Regions from separate parts of the Homo sapiens genome. Here all the other regions are linked to region 4. The links are contacts of gene promoters, found by promoter capture Hi-C in human tissues and cell types (Jung and others, 2019). All regions are on one chromosome and are shown on one strand. Each heading gives the region's core, a stretch centred on a gene start or on the middle of the fragment in contact. The rest is flanking DNA. Distances are from core to core; before and after follow the strand shown.

Region 1 (2,946 bases), core at 255-2,754, 600 kb after region 4:
CCCACAGTCTCCCAAACCAGCCATAGACAACCACCGATGTACTTTCTCTCTCCCTGCATTTGCCAATGCTAAGACATTTCTAATAAATCGAATCAAACAATATGTGGTCTTCTGTGGCTGGCTTCATTCACTTAGCATCATATTTTCAAGGCTCATCTATGCTGCAGCATGAATAAGTATTTCATTCTTTCTTATTGCCAAATAATATTGCATTGTATGACTATACTACATTTTATTTATCCATTCGTCTGTTGGGCCTTTGGATTATTTCCACCTTTTGATATTATGAATCATGCACTTATGGACATTTGTATACACAATTTTACATGGACATATGCTTCCACTCTCTTGGGCGTATACCCAAAAGGGAAATTCCTGGATCATATGGTAACTCTAGGTTTAACCTTTTGAGAAACTGCTGAAGTGTTTTTCAAAACTGTGACCCATTTTTCATTCCCAATTCTAGTTGTATGAGTCTTCACCTCTTTTTTTCTTGGTCAGTATAGACAAAGGTTTGTCAATTTTGTTAATTTATTTTAAAGAACCAACTTCTGATTTTATTTTTTTCTTTTGTTTTTCTATTCTCTATTTCTTTTCTAACCTCATTTTTTCCCTTCTGCTTGTTTCAGGTCAAGGGGTGTTTGAAGATGCTAGGTCAATACATAGGTTTGAAGAAATAAATATTTTGATTGTGTATTTACATGACTGTCTTCTCATACTCTGGATTTGAGGTTTTGGAAATCAGGAATTCTGACTTATTCACCTTTGTCTCAATTCCTGTTATCTTTGCCACAAAGTACTGCAAAAAATATGGATAAACAATTAAAACCATGTTCTTGAATGCACTGAGGAACTAACAAGAAAATTGGGGATAATCAGAGAGTGAGAACAAAGTTAAATTAGAAAATTAGAAACAGGTAAGCAACAAGCCATTTTCACCTTGACAATATCAACCAAACAAAGCAAGGTGAATTGAGCTTTAGTTTTCACTGACCTATAGGAGTGAAACAGAATACTGTGAAAGGTAGGAAATCTGGCAAAGTAACGAGGTGGGTCCAATAAACTATATATACACCTGCTTCCCCAGGGTAATGGCAAGGGAAGACACATATTACAAACGTATCTATAGAATATTCAAAGCATACTAAAATAAAATGTATTTTTGATTATACATACATACGTGGTAAAACTATGAAAACTATGAAAGCAGGCAAAAGAATGATAAACACTAAATTCTGATAACGTTTCCTCTGAGCAGAAAGAGAAGAGAATAGGTTACACGAAGACACATAGGGATTTTAAAGTATATGTTAAAAGAATTTTCATAAACTGGACAGTAAAATGTAGTTGTTCATGTTATTATTATTGTACATTTTAAATAAATGTTTGGTATTTTACAACATCTGATTTTAAAAATTAAAAATAAATATACATAGAAGGAAGCCCATAGATCATTGTAAAAATAATATGAAACCTAAATAGTTGAATGACCAACTCAAGGTCAAACAGCTTGTTAACAAAGTCCAGGATTAAACTAAGTTTTATTTAATAAGTATGCATAAAACTTTTGGCCAGGCATGGTGGCTCACACCTGTAATCCCAGCACTTTGGGAGGCCGAGATGGGTGGATCACCTGAGGTCAGGAGTTCAAGACCAGCCTGGCCAACATGACAAAACCCATCTCTACTAAAAATACAAAAATTAGCTAGGCATGGTGGTACGTGCCTGTAATCCCAGCTACTCGGGAGGCTGAGGTAGGAGAATCGCTTGAACCCAGGAGAGGGAGGTTGCAGTGCACTGAGATCATGCCACTGCACTCCAGCCTGGGCAACAGAGAGAGGCTCTTTTAAAGGCCATCTACAAAATGGTATAATTTTATCACTAGGAAAAATGGCTTAAAATAGCAATAATGTAATTGGCCATACTCTGCTAACCATGACAAGTTTTATATCAATTGAAATTCTTATTAAATGTCCTTAAAAATATAGCTACAACAATTTGCAAGAAGATTTATCCACTTGTGGCTCATTTGCCGCAAGTCCCCAATCCCAGGTTTACTTTTCCTATTCACAAAACATTCTTGAAAAGTTGCACCCTACTGCCTTGTGTTGTCAAGATGTGTAAGTAACTTTCAATATTAGAAAAATAGTACCAAAAATTCATAATGGAATATAATCTCTTCATATTTTCAAAAAAGAATAAATCCACATACATATAACAGGCATATGTGGACTTTTTGTGCAAAGAATCACAAGAGTTGGTAAATTTTTGTTATGTTTATTTTACCACAATTTTCAAAAGTGGTTTTAGTCAGCTATGGGAGCTTAAAGAAATAGATCATAAAGGAAAAGTCAGACAAAGTTGATTCTAGCATTGTTAAAAGGGCAGTTCTCAAAGGGCAGCTCCTGGACCAGCAGTATCAGCAACAACATCATTATCACTTGGGAAACTGTTAAAAATGCCAGTTTAGCAATTTATGTTTCAATGAACCCTCTAGGTGTTTCTGGTACTAGCTGTGAGAATCACTGATCTATTATATAGTCAGGCTGAGAGCTATCAACTTCAGGGCAGGGATTTGCAGCCCTAAGACATATTAGAATCACCTGGAGAAATTATAAAATGCTGATATCTGGGGCCTATCCCAAATTAACTTAATTAGAATCTCTGGAGGTGCAGCTGCTATGAAAAACAGTCTGAGGTCCTCAAAAAAAATAAAAAATAGAGCTACCATATTATTCAGCAATTCCACTTTTCAGTATGTATACAAAAGAATTGAATCAGGATCTTGAAGTGATTATCTGCACTTCTATTTTCATTGCAACATTATTCACAATCGCTAAAGCATGGAAGCAACCCAAGTAACTGTTCATTGACAGATGAATAGACTTTAAAAATTTACACACACACACACACACACACACACTGGTATACTATTCAAGCTTTAAA
Region 2 (3,345 bases), core at 756-3,255, 530 kb after region 4:
CTCTGAAATATATGATTTATAGAATTGTTATGAAAGATAAGTGAAAACTAATAAAATGATGATAAAAGTTATTTTCTTATCTGTGAGATGGGAACAGTTAGATTCTTTTAGGTGTGTTTTGTAGATTTGGTTACACCCAATTAATTCATCTAAATAAAGATAGATTGGCATTTGAATATTAAACATTGCTAAAAAAAAAAAAAGGAACAGCAGGCAATCTAGTTAGCTAACCTGTGGCTGAGGAATAGGCAAAAAAGTTTTGGTGGTCTTGTTTGTTAAAATGAAATCTTTTTGCAACCCTTGTTTTTCACTTCTGTTACATTTTGTTGTCCCCTATACTACTTCATTGTATGTGTTCTCTCCCTCCTTTAATATAGGGTTTTTTTATATAGCTTCTTTTTTTCTGTAAAGGAGAAAAAAGTAAATATTTTAAGCATTGCAAACCATATGATCTCTGTTGCAACTACTTAACCCTGCTTTGTAGCAGGAAACAGCCTTAGATGATATATAAACAAATGGGTATGACTGCGCTCCAACACAGCTTTATTTACAAAATCAGGGAGGGGGATGTGCCATTTGATTCATATGTCACAGTTTGCTGTCTCTTTCCTTAGAATATCACTTTTAGCTCCAGTACTTATCTTACTAATATATTTTTTACGATGGAACATTAGTCATGTAATTAGAGAAACTTCAGGTTAATCTCAGGGTTCAATAATTTTCTAAAAGTATGACTTTACCGAACCTTCAATGAGCTTCTATATATATTATGTAAATCTCCCAAAAGTGAACATGGTATGCAGGATTTCCAAATGTATTGGGGTATGAAAATATTCTTAAGAGCATCCAAAGAGTATTATATCACAGAAAACATTTTGGAAAATTTAGAAATACCAAGGAAATGTCCATGTTGTATAATTTACAAAAAATTCAGGCATTGGCTATAAAAAGATTACAAATATTGTAGACCAATTTTGGAAAACAGTATTCATAGAAGGTGGAGCCCACTTGATGAGACTGAAGGGTATAGTGAAAAAAACTAAAAACTAAATAAAGAAGATGCTATGAGAAAGAAAAACAGGGAAGTATAAGTGTAGACTGGGGAAATAAGAAGGCCTTTTGATAGAGAATGAAACAGATACATTAAGAATCCAGGAGGGATGTGTGTACTTTTTGTGGGATAGAGTTGTAAAATACTGGAATTATATGCCAAGGGTAGTTGTGAAAAGACTTATGCCATACTAAGAAGTTTGGGCATTATCTTGAATGAAAATAAGAACCAGAAAATGTTTTTTTGATCAGAAAAGCAACATCTCCAGTTCTTTGTTTTAAAAAGACATCTTGGACATCAATTTAAAGAATGTGCTAGAAGGTGTCCAGAATAAATACTGAGATGCCAATTAAAAGAGTCCAGTTATCTAGCCAAGGGCATCGAGGCCTTTATCTACCAAAGTACTGGCAGTGGAACTTAGAGGAGGTGAAAGGTCAAAGAGATATGAAATATGTGGAATGAGGTGAATCTGGCAACTACTTGACTATGAGGGAATGAAGAGAGAGGAAATGAAATTTAAGATAACTCTGAGTTTTCTCATACAAACTCCTGAATGACCAATGATGCCATTAACAAACATTAATAATAAAACTAATACAAATAATATAGGAAGTACAGGTTTGAAGGTAATACATTGTAAATCCTAAAAAATGTTGGAATGTATTTGGAATATAAACTACTAGTTATTTTCCCTTTTCATTTTGTAAAGTTTGTGGAAAATTACTATTTAGAATGTTGGAAATGTTCTGTTTTGTAGAATAGGAATTGTTGAATTAAGATGAGCCTAATGAAAATATTTATCAACAGACACATATATAAAATAAAGTGTGGCAGATCAAAGTCTGCTTTGTTAAAGATATTTCTGATAATTTTTCATGATCAAGTATTATTCTTAAATCTAAGAATTTAGGGCTTGGAAGAAAGCCCACTGTACTCTCACTGGATCCAATGTGAATCAAGTATAGCCTTCCCACCTACCCCATACTTGGTCCAAAACATTAGATGCATCCAGCATTTATTTCATAGAAACCATGATAAAACATTATTACTTGTTAAACCCTCATATGCGGAGAGACAGCAAAAAGTTCACACAGACTGTAATATAAATTTTGAAAATCAACTATGTCTTTTTAATTTTTACCCTCAAAATGCCCTTTCTTATTACCCTGTATCAGTGGTTTATGCCTTTGTATGTATTAAAACCACACATGAGGCATTTGGTAAAACATGTAATTCTTGGTTCTACTTTCTGATTCTATAAATTTTATAGGAATCCTAGGATACTGTATTTTTATTAAGTGCCTCAAAGATTTCTGAGGTATATGTTCCCTGTACAAGGGAGCAACATCCGTATATAAAGAACCATGCCAGAGTGCTTTATGCCTTCTGCTTCAGTTTTCTTGTTTTGAAGTTGTAATTTAGCAAGTGTTTCCATTTATTTTTGGTATGTTTTCAATCTTGCAAATATTTCCTTGTACTCCTTCTATAACGTGTCTTTCTGTTACTGCCTGGTCCTTAATGTACATACTGAGGAAGGGATATCTGGGGCCCAAAGGCAACTAATGTAATATCATATTTGCTGTCAGAAATATTTCCCCAAGGTAGCAAAATCACTCTCACATCTTGTGAAGAGTACATCAAACTGAATGAAATAGGCGTGAAGAATCAGAGAGACTGCAGTCATTATTTTGAGCTTATGTAGCTTTTAAATCTTAATATTTCCCTGAAATTTTTTTAGTAAAATAAAAAATGTGAGCATATTTTTTTACATCCAGCAATGACATATTTAGGAGACAAGTAACAGTAATGTCCATCCACTTAAGTCTTTCTGAATGAGTAGAGATGCATTGTGAAAAAAGTAATTTGCAGAAGCATTGACAAAATCCCTTCTGATTACCTTAATTGATTCTTTCTGAAAATCTCCATACTTTCCTCATTCTTTCCAAGAAACTCATGCTACGAAAATGTAAAGGGAGTGAACTCAACACCTAATCACTCAAGACTTCAAACTTAAACACATTCTCTAGGTCTATGATTCTCTGCACATTCTCTGAACAGATGCTGGTTTGCTCTAACTCATCAGACCAGCAGTAAGAAAGCTTCAGCTGACAAACACCAAAACCTTCTCTTGTCATTAGCAGTGGCTGCTGGAATAATAAAACATCTGGCATCTTCCTTTACTGATTAAAGGGGTCATTTCAAAGACCTGTCATCCAGCCCTTAGGCATAAAGACTTGAGCCTCCACATTTCTCCCCTTTAATTCATGTTTTGCAGATGCAGGGACACTCTACAT
Region 3 (2,943 bases), core at 156-2,655, 690 kb after region 4:
CAGAGAGGAAAGGTGAGTTGACTTAGAACTCTGGTGGTAAAAGTTTTCCCATGAGACCTTGGGCAAGTTACCAAATTTTATAAGCTTCAGTTTTTTCTTCTATAAATGCTGGATAATAAATATATCTACTTCATAGGGCTAGTGACAAAGTAAGCTAATGCATCTGAAGTACTTAGAATACTACATGGTACATACATTCTTAATAATTATAGGCTATTATTATAAATACTTCAGAGACTCTGTGGAATCAGCCCTCCCTTGCAGTTTCATCCATTTGTGGTCATAGACATTAAATTCTTTTTATTGGCTTTTCTTAGCAAGGATGTGTGTGTGTGTGTGTGCGCGCGTGTGTGTATCTATATGTGTGCATATATGTGTGTGTGTGTATATATATAGTGAAGACTTCAAGAAGTATAAATTCAGTTTTAAACATTAGTTTCTAATCCCACCGTAACTTCCTTGAGGGACTTGGATTTCTCTTTAACAGCCTCCTTACTGGGGCTAGACCAGGTAAATATCTGTGCTGTGTTAAGAATTCTATAGAGAATGCACTTTACATAATCAGAAGATTTTACAAATGTTATAGCAGTAATTTTCTCTTCATTTTATTATCCATTTTTAGAATTAGTGCAGTGGCTTTTTGCAAACTTTTTTTTTTTTTTGGAAAATAAAGCTGTTAGTGTAAATTATGAAACGTTAAGTTTATTCAAAAGATGGTGCCATTTCTCAGAGGAGTTTGACAACTTTCCACAAAATATAAAATCCTTTCTAAAACTTCCTGCACTGTTGACTCAAAGAGATTCCTGATAGAACTCCAGGATTATAACGGATTTACTTTTAGGAGAAGAATGTCTTTAAAAGTGGTGGTAACCTTAATAGAGAAACAGTGAATTGTTGAATCTGTGATAGTATTTGTGCCTTTTAATAAATTGTAAAATGAGTTCCTTAAGACTTACATCTTCAGTTGTATGAAACTCCTCCTGTTACCCTTGCCTCACTAAAGTACAATCCAGAATTTTTTCTAGTAACTGATCTATATTATTCATTTTTCTTGTTTGGGCACATACATCTTATTTGACAGCCGTTGCTGAAGGCTTACTAATTTTGTTCTTCATGGTATTTAAGAGGGATGGAACTTGTAAGTAAACTTACAGTTATAATCAATATAATGTAGTAGGAGTTAAACTGCCTTCTTATATGGTTCCGAAGTTAATCTAATTCCAAGAATTACATTTATTTCGGTATAGCTTGAAATTGATCCATGTATACTAGCTCACTTAAGTTTTCACAAACTGAGCACATTCAATCAGCAATCAGATCAAGAAATGTATGCAAGGTATATTTTGTTACTGTAAAAAGTAATGGTGGTCAGTAAAGTTGCTGGGACTATAAGATGGTGCTCCTCTAATTCAAGACCAACACTGAGCACTTGCCTCCATCAATTCGTCCTCTCTTGCCTCCAGCACCTTTTTCCATCCACCTGATCCACTAGCATCTTCATACTGCTTTAAAGACTCCTGTGTCCTGGTCTCAAGTCATGCCTAGCTTTAAAAGTGATAAAATCCAAGTAATACACCCCTTAAGTAATTTTTAATCTATTTTTTTATTTAAACTTTTCAGAATATTCAGAAAAATAGGCAGTGTTCATATTTTTCCTTTTTCACTTTGCAGTCACTCTTTAAATTACTTTCTGCTTTAAATTATTGACTTTCTGATTGATATAGAAGTATTGAGAAATAGGCAGTCATGTAACCATATCAATCTATATATTTTTTAAAGAGGTAATGTGGTGTTTATTCCCGTGTACTCTTCTCCTTCTGGAGTTCCTTTTATATGAAGGTTGGGCTTCTCATTCGAACTTAATTGTAACCTCTTTGTGGTTTTTATCTTTTTGTGCTACTTACACATTTTCTAGGTTCATTTTTATCCAGTTGGTAATAACTAATCTACCTATTAATAGATTGAGCTTTACATTTTAGTGGTGAAATTTCTATGTCTAAAAACCATTTCTAATCTTTAGCTTGAAAAAGTGTCTGTTATTCTACTTCTTTATTTTCTGGCTTTTTCAAAGCCATTTTCATTATATTGTACCTATTTCATAGTCTGAAAAACGATTTTTGAAGTTCTTGAGCTTCAGCTATTTATGGTGTCTTGACTCTGTCTCGAGGTAAATTGTGTCCTCTTATAATTTTTCATTTGTGAGCATATATTAAGCAGTACGTTGTCTGTGTGAATCCTGTACACCCTGGGTTGGCTGCAGTTTTCCTTTCAATCTCGTGGATGCTGTGTCCTTCTTACTTGGTTTTTCCCAGGCAGCCCTTTCCTGTAGAGCCAGTATGAGGTAGCCAGGTTCTCAGCTGTTTCGAGTGCTTTGCCTTCTCTGGTTATCTCAAGCATCAGGAAAATTATATGTTGCATACATTCCACAGAGGTCCCATGGTGATGGGGAAAGGTCAGCTCAGGCATTCCCTCTGCTTAGCCACACTTCATCATACTGCTTGGATACATGTTGCTGCCTAGGAGACTTTCTTAACCCAAACAGGCCCCACTGCCTTTAGCAGTTTCTTCATCTTCTCTGACATACAATTCAGCTTTGGCCCAGAGTGGAGATTAAGATATGGGTCTGACTCTGCCTCTCTTTTCCCTGTGTGACTGCTCCAGTTGCTCCTAACTGAATGCCCTGTAGCTCCCAAGCTTGCAGGCTCTGCCATGGGATGCCTGGGAAAGTAAGGCACTTGTACTCTTCCATTTTTGTCTGGATGATACCAGTGTCTGCCTCTTCTCCCATTATTCATGTAAATGCAAAAGAGAAAAAAAGCACTTTAATAATTTTCAAAAATTTCTCATATTACATTCTCTATTGTGTCTGGCTCTGAAGTTAGGTTTTTGTGTTTTTTTCCCACAATTATTCCTACTGTATGTCCTTGCTGCAATCCAAGTGCT
Region 4 (3,134 bases), core at 319-2,818:
GGTTTCATCCAGCTCCTCCCCCAAAACACGCCCCCCAAATCGGAGCCAGAGGAGAGCCCAACCACAGAGGACTTCCACTCAATGAGGGCAACCCCTGAGTAAAGTCCATGCGGACAACCATTCATCTCCTCCGACAACCATTCATCTCCTCCGACCCCCGCCCAGCACTAGACTGCGCTCCTAGCACCGCGCCTTCTTCCGGAGCCTCCTCCCCCGGGCTGGCTAGGGGTGAGCGCAGGGGTTAGTCAGTACGCACGTGACGCGCGATGCCCACATGACACGACCGTGAGCGGGGGAGGGGGACACGGAGTGAAGAAGGGGAAAAGTTACAGAAGACCCGTCAAAGCGCCCAAAGCAATTTGTCCCTTCTTTTCTTCGCCAGCGGTGGCTCACGGATCCCTAAGGGACAGCTGGGGACCCAGGCGCCCCCAGCCCAGCCCCAGAAACGCTGGACGCAGTTCTCCGCTCACCCCACCACCTTCTCTTCCCAGACCCGCTGGTGATGCCGCTGCACCCTGAAGTTGCTCCTTCCTTCTTTCCCTCCCTTCCTCCCATTCTTTCTTTCTTTTCTTCCTTCCTCCCTTCCCCAAAAGCTCTTCATCCGCTTCGGGTGATGCCACTGACGCACATTCAATTTGCCCCAGCAGCTCTGAGGAGGTCAGACCAGGCCGAGCACCTTCCAAAGGGGAGGGTCTAACTGAGCAAACAAAGTTGCACGCCACACCACAACCTGCCCCTCCCCTCCCTTTAGCCCCCAAGTCGAATCCCCGGCGAAACTCACTTGCACTGCGGGTGCTCTCTGGCCCCCACCCCATCATCGCGCAACACACCCCCTTCAACATGCGCGGCCACCCTTTCATTGCCCTGCGCCCCGAGCGGTCCCACCGCCCGGCAAAACACTGAGCAAGCCGCTGCTCTCACCTTGCTTGACACACTTGAGCCGGAGGGGGTCCTTGCAGTGTTTGATCACGGCCAGCACGTCCCTGATGGTGAGCCCCGCCACGGGGGTCTCGTTCACCTCCAGCAGCAGCTCCTCCGACACCAATTTGCTGCCGCTCTCATAGGCCACCTTGCCGGGCTTCACCTCCCCCAGGTAGGGGAACTGTCCATTCTCGGCGCCCCCCTTCAGTTCAAAGCCCAGCTGGCCCTCCGGGTTCCTGCCAATGACACTCTCATGGACTTTGCTAGTCCAGTGGCTTTTCTTTTTCAAGCTTTTGGACATGGCAGTGGGGCGAGTCGCCTCAGTTCCTGGGCTCCTTGGGGTTAGGGGGGCTGGTGGTGAGAGAATGAGGATGGAGGAGCAAGGGGGCCCAGGGGGAAGAACAGCAGACTTTGCCTTCGCCCCCCTCTATTCGGTGCTTTCCCTCTTCTTTGGATGGAGTGTGGACGAGGAATGGGGAGGATGAGAGGGACGGCTGGGCAGAGGTAGGAGAGCTTGGATGAGGTTGTGCTGTCCCTTGAATGACACTCAAGGCTGTGGCCCCGCAGCAGAGGAAGCAGTGGTGGTGGCGTCGGCGGCGGCGGCGGCGGCAGCCGGAGCGAGCAGTAGCCGAGCTGGTGAGCGGGTGTGGTGGGGGTGGGGAAGGAGGGTAGGGATGCCGGGGGCCACTCCTGCGTGGTGCGAGTGGGAACGCGCGCGCGCGCCTGGGTGTGTGTTGTTAGCTGATATCCATGGCAGCTGCAGTGGCAGGGTGCGTGTGCGTGTGTGTGTGTGTGTGTGTGTGTACTAGTTCTACTGTACTGGCAGACGGGAGGAGGCAGGGGAGGAGGGGCGCGCGCGCCGGGTGGGGAGCCACGGAGGGCTTCGCCGCTGCCTCCCTCCCTCCCTCCGCAGCTTGACCCGGTAGTGAAGGCAGAGAGAGAGGCAGGCTGGGTCCGCCTGGCAGCCTACGGGAGGAGGCGGGAGCCGGGAAGGAGGGGAGCCTAGGCCCGGCGTGGGGAGGCCGGCAGGAAGGGCCTCGAGCCCAGTGCGGACCTTTCTTCAGCCTCTGTGCGACCGAGCCGCGCGCCAGGCTCCTGTGCGAGGAGGACGCGCTGACTCCCTCCGACCTGGGCTCCGATGGAGCAGAAATAGCGGGACCTGGACTTGTGGCGCGCCTGGTGCCACATCTCGGGCTCTGCGAGCGTCCTGGCGCGGGATCCTGCCGTGAGAAGGAGTTGGGGCGGGGGACCCGGCGGGGCATTGCGGGAGAAGGCCTGGGATCCCTGGGAGCCTTGTAGCGTGGGGGAGTTCACTGTGTAGAGAGGTTTCATGTCTTCATCTATATAGTCACTTATTTGTCTTAAAGTTCTCGAAATTCCCTCTTAGAGAAGGAGAAAGTTAGAGAACTGGAGGCTGCGTACCCTGATTACGCAGAAGGGAAGCAGCCTCGCATTCCCCGGGGCAGGCCCCCGCCCGCGCGTCCCGCCAGTAGGGGAATTTAGCGGACGGCTGCGGTTGTCTGGTGAAAGGCTATCCAAGGATAAGGGGCTTCACTTTTCCCAAGTAGGGGAAAGAGAAGGGGTCTACAGGGCTAGGGGTGGAGGGAGCGGATGCAGTGAGCAGCCTCCGCAGAGAAATTGACAATTTAACCAGGGACCTGCGGCAGAGACAAGGCGGAGACACTCCCTTGCCCAGGAAAGCCGCCAGAGTCCGGCTTGTACCTGGGGAAGAATCCTTAAGACGGTCTGGCCCAACACTCCTTTGCTCACAGAGAAAGGGGAGAAGACTCCCGAGGGTGAAAATGGTACATTCGGAGCTGGAACTCAGCTCGCTGACCCCAAGCAGTGTTCCCTTCTTTTCGCCAGGTTTGCATCCAAGAGAGGGGAGGACAGGGGCAAAAGGATGCAGGGAGGCTGCTGATTTCCACTGAAGAGCTAATTTCCTGTGAGACATTAACAGTGATTTAAGAAAAAGATTCCTGTAACTGGTAAATGAATTTCATTTGCTTAACTTTTAGATGATATGTTTCAGGCAAAAAAAAAGTTGTGCACCCACTTATCTCTTTAAAGCGGAGGATGAAAAGCATTGAATAGGTAGGATTCTTAATGTCTGAGATGAAGGCGATGTAGGAGGCAAACAATACGGTTAAAAATGTTGAGTCGACCCAAACAGAAAGACCAGGTTTCAATCCAGACTCTGCGGCTTACTGAGA

Evidence for each region. Contacts are between HindIII fragments. The study calls those that stand out against the background at their distance.
Region 1: a contact is called between a fragment that was not itself captured here and the fragment with the promoter of MAGI2 in region 4, in 1 of the 25 tissues and cell types used here (IMR-90 fibroblasts).
Region 2: a fragment that was not itself captured here is called in contact with the fragment with the promoter of MAGI2 in region 4 in 3 of the 25 tissues and cell types used here (IMR-90 fibroblasts, lymphoblastoid cells and small bowel).
Region 3: a contact is called between a fragment that was not itself captured here and the fragment with the promoter of MAGI2 in region 4, in 1 of the 25 tissues and cell types used here (hippocampus).

Annotation. Positions count from the first base shown.
Region 1 is chr7:80,054,240-80,057,185 of GRCh38, forward strand. No RefSeq gene overlaps it. Among named protein-coding and RNA genes, the nearest start is that of GNAI1, 79 kb to the right of the region's middle. The HindIII fragment of the contact is 7,093 bases long and covers 1-2,946 here.
Region 2 is chr7:79,979,123-79,982,467 of GRCh38, forward strand. No RefSeq gene overlaps it. Among named protein-coding and RNA genes, the nearest start is that of GNAI1, 150 kb to the right of the region's middle. The HindIII fragment of the contact is 6,983 bases long and covers 1-3,345 here.
Region 3 is chr7:80,143,582-80,146,524 of GRCh38, forward strand. All of the region lies in intron 1 of GNAI1 (G protein subunit alpha i1), which reads left to right. Among named protein-coding and RNA genes, the nearest start is that of GNAI1, 10 kb to the left of the region's middle. The HindIII fragment of the contact is 5,700 bases long and covers 1-2,943 here.
Region 4 is chr7:79,452,099-79,455,232 of GRCh38, forward strand. MAGI2 (membrane associated guanylate kinase, WW and PDZ domain containing 2) reads right to left here and starts at 1,569. Exons shown (of 22, transcript NM_012301.4): 1 at 922-1,569. The coding sequence starts at 1,222. MAGI2-AS3 (MAGI2 antisense RNA 3) reads left to right here and starts at 859. Exons shown (of 4, transcript NR_038346.1): 1 at 859-1,093; 2 at 1,489-1,557. RefSeq lists an enhancer at 15-309. The HindIII fragment of the contact is 8,431 bases long and covers 1-3,134 here.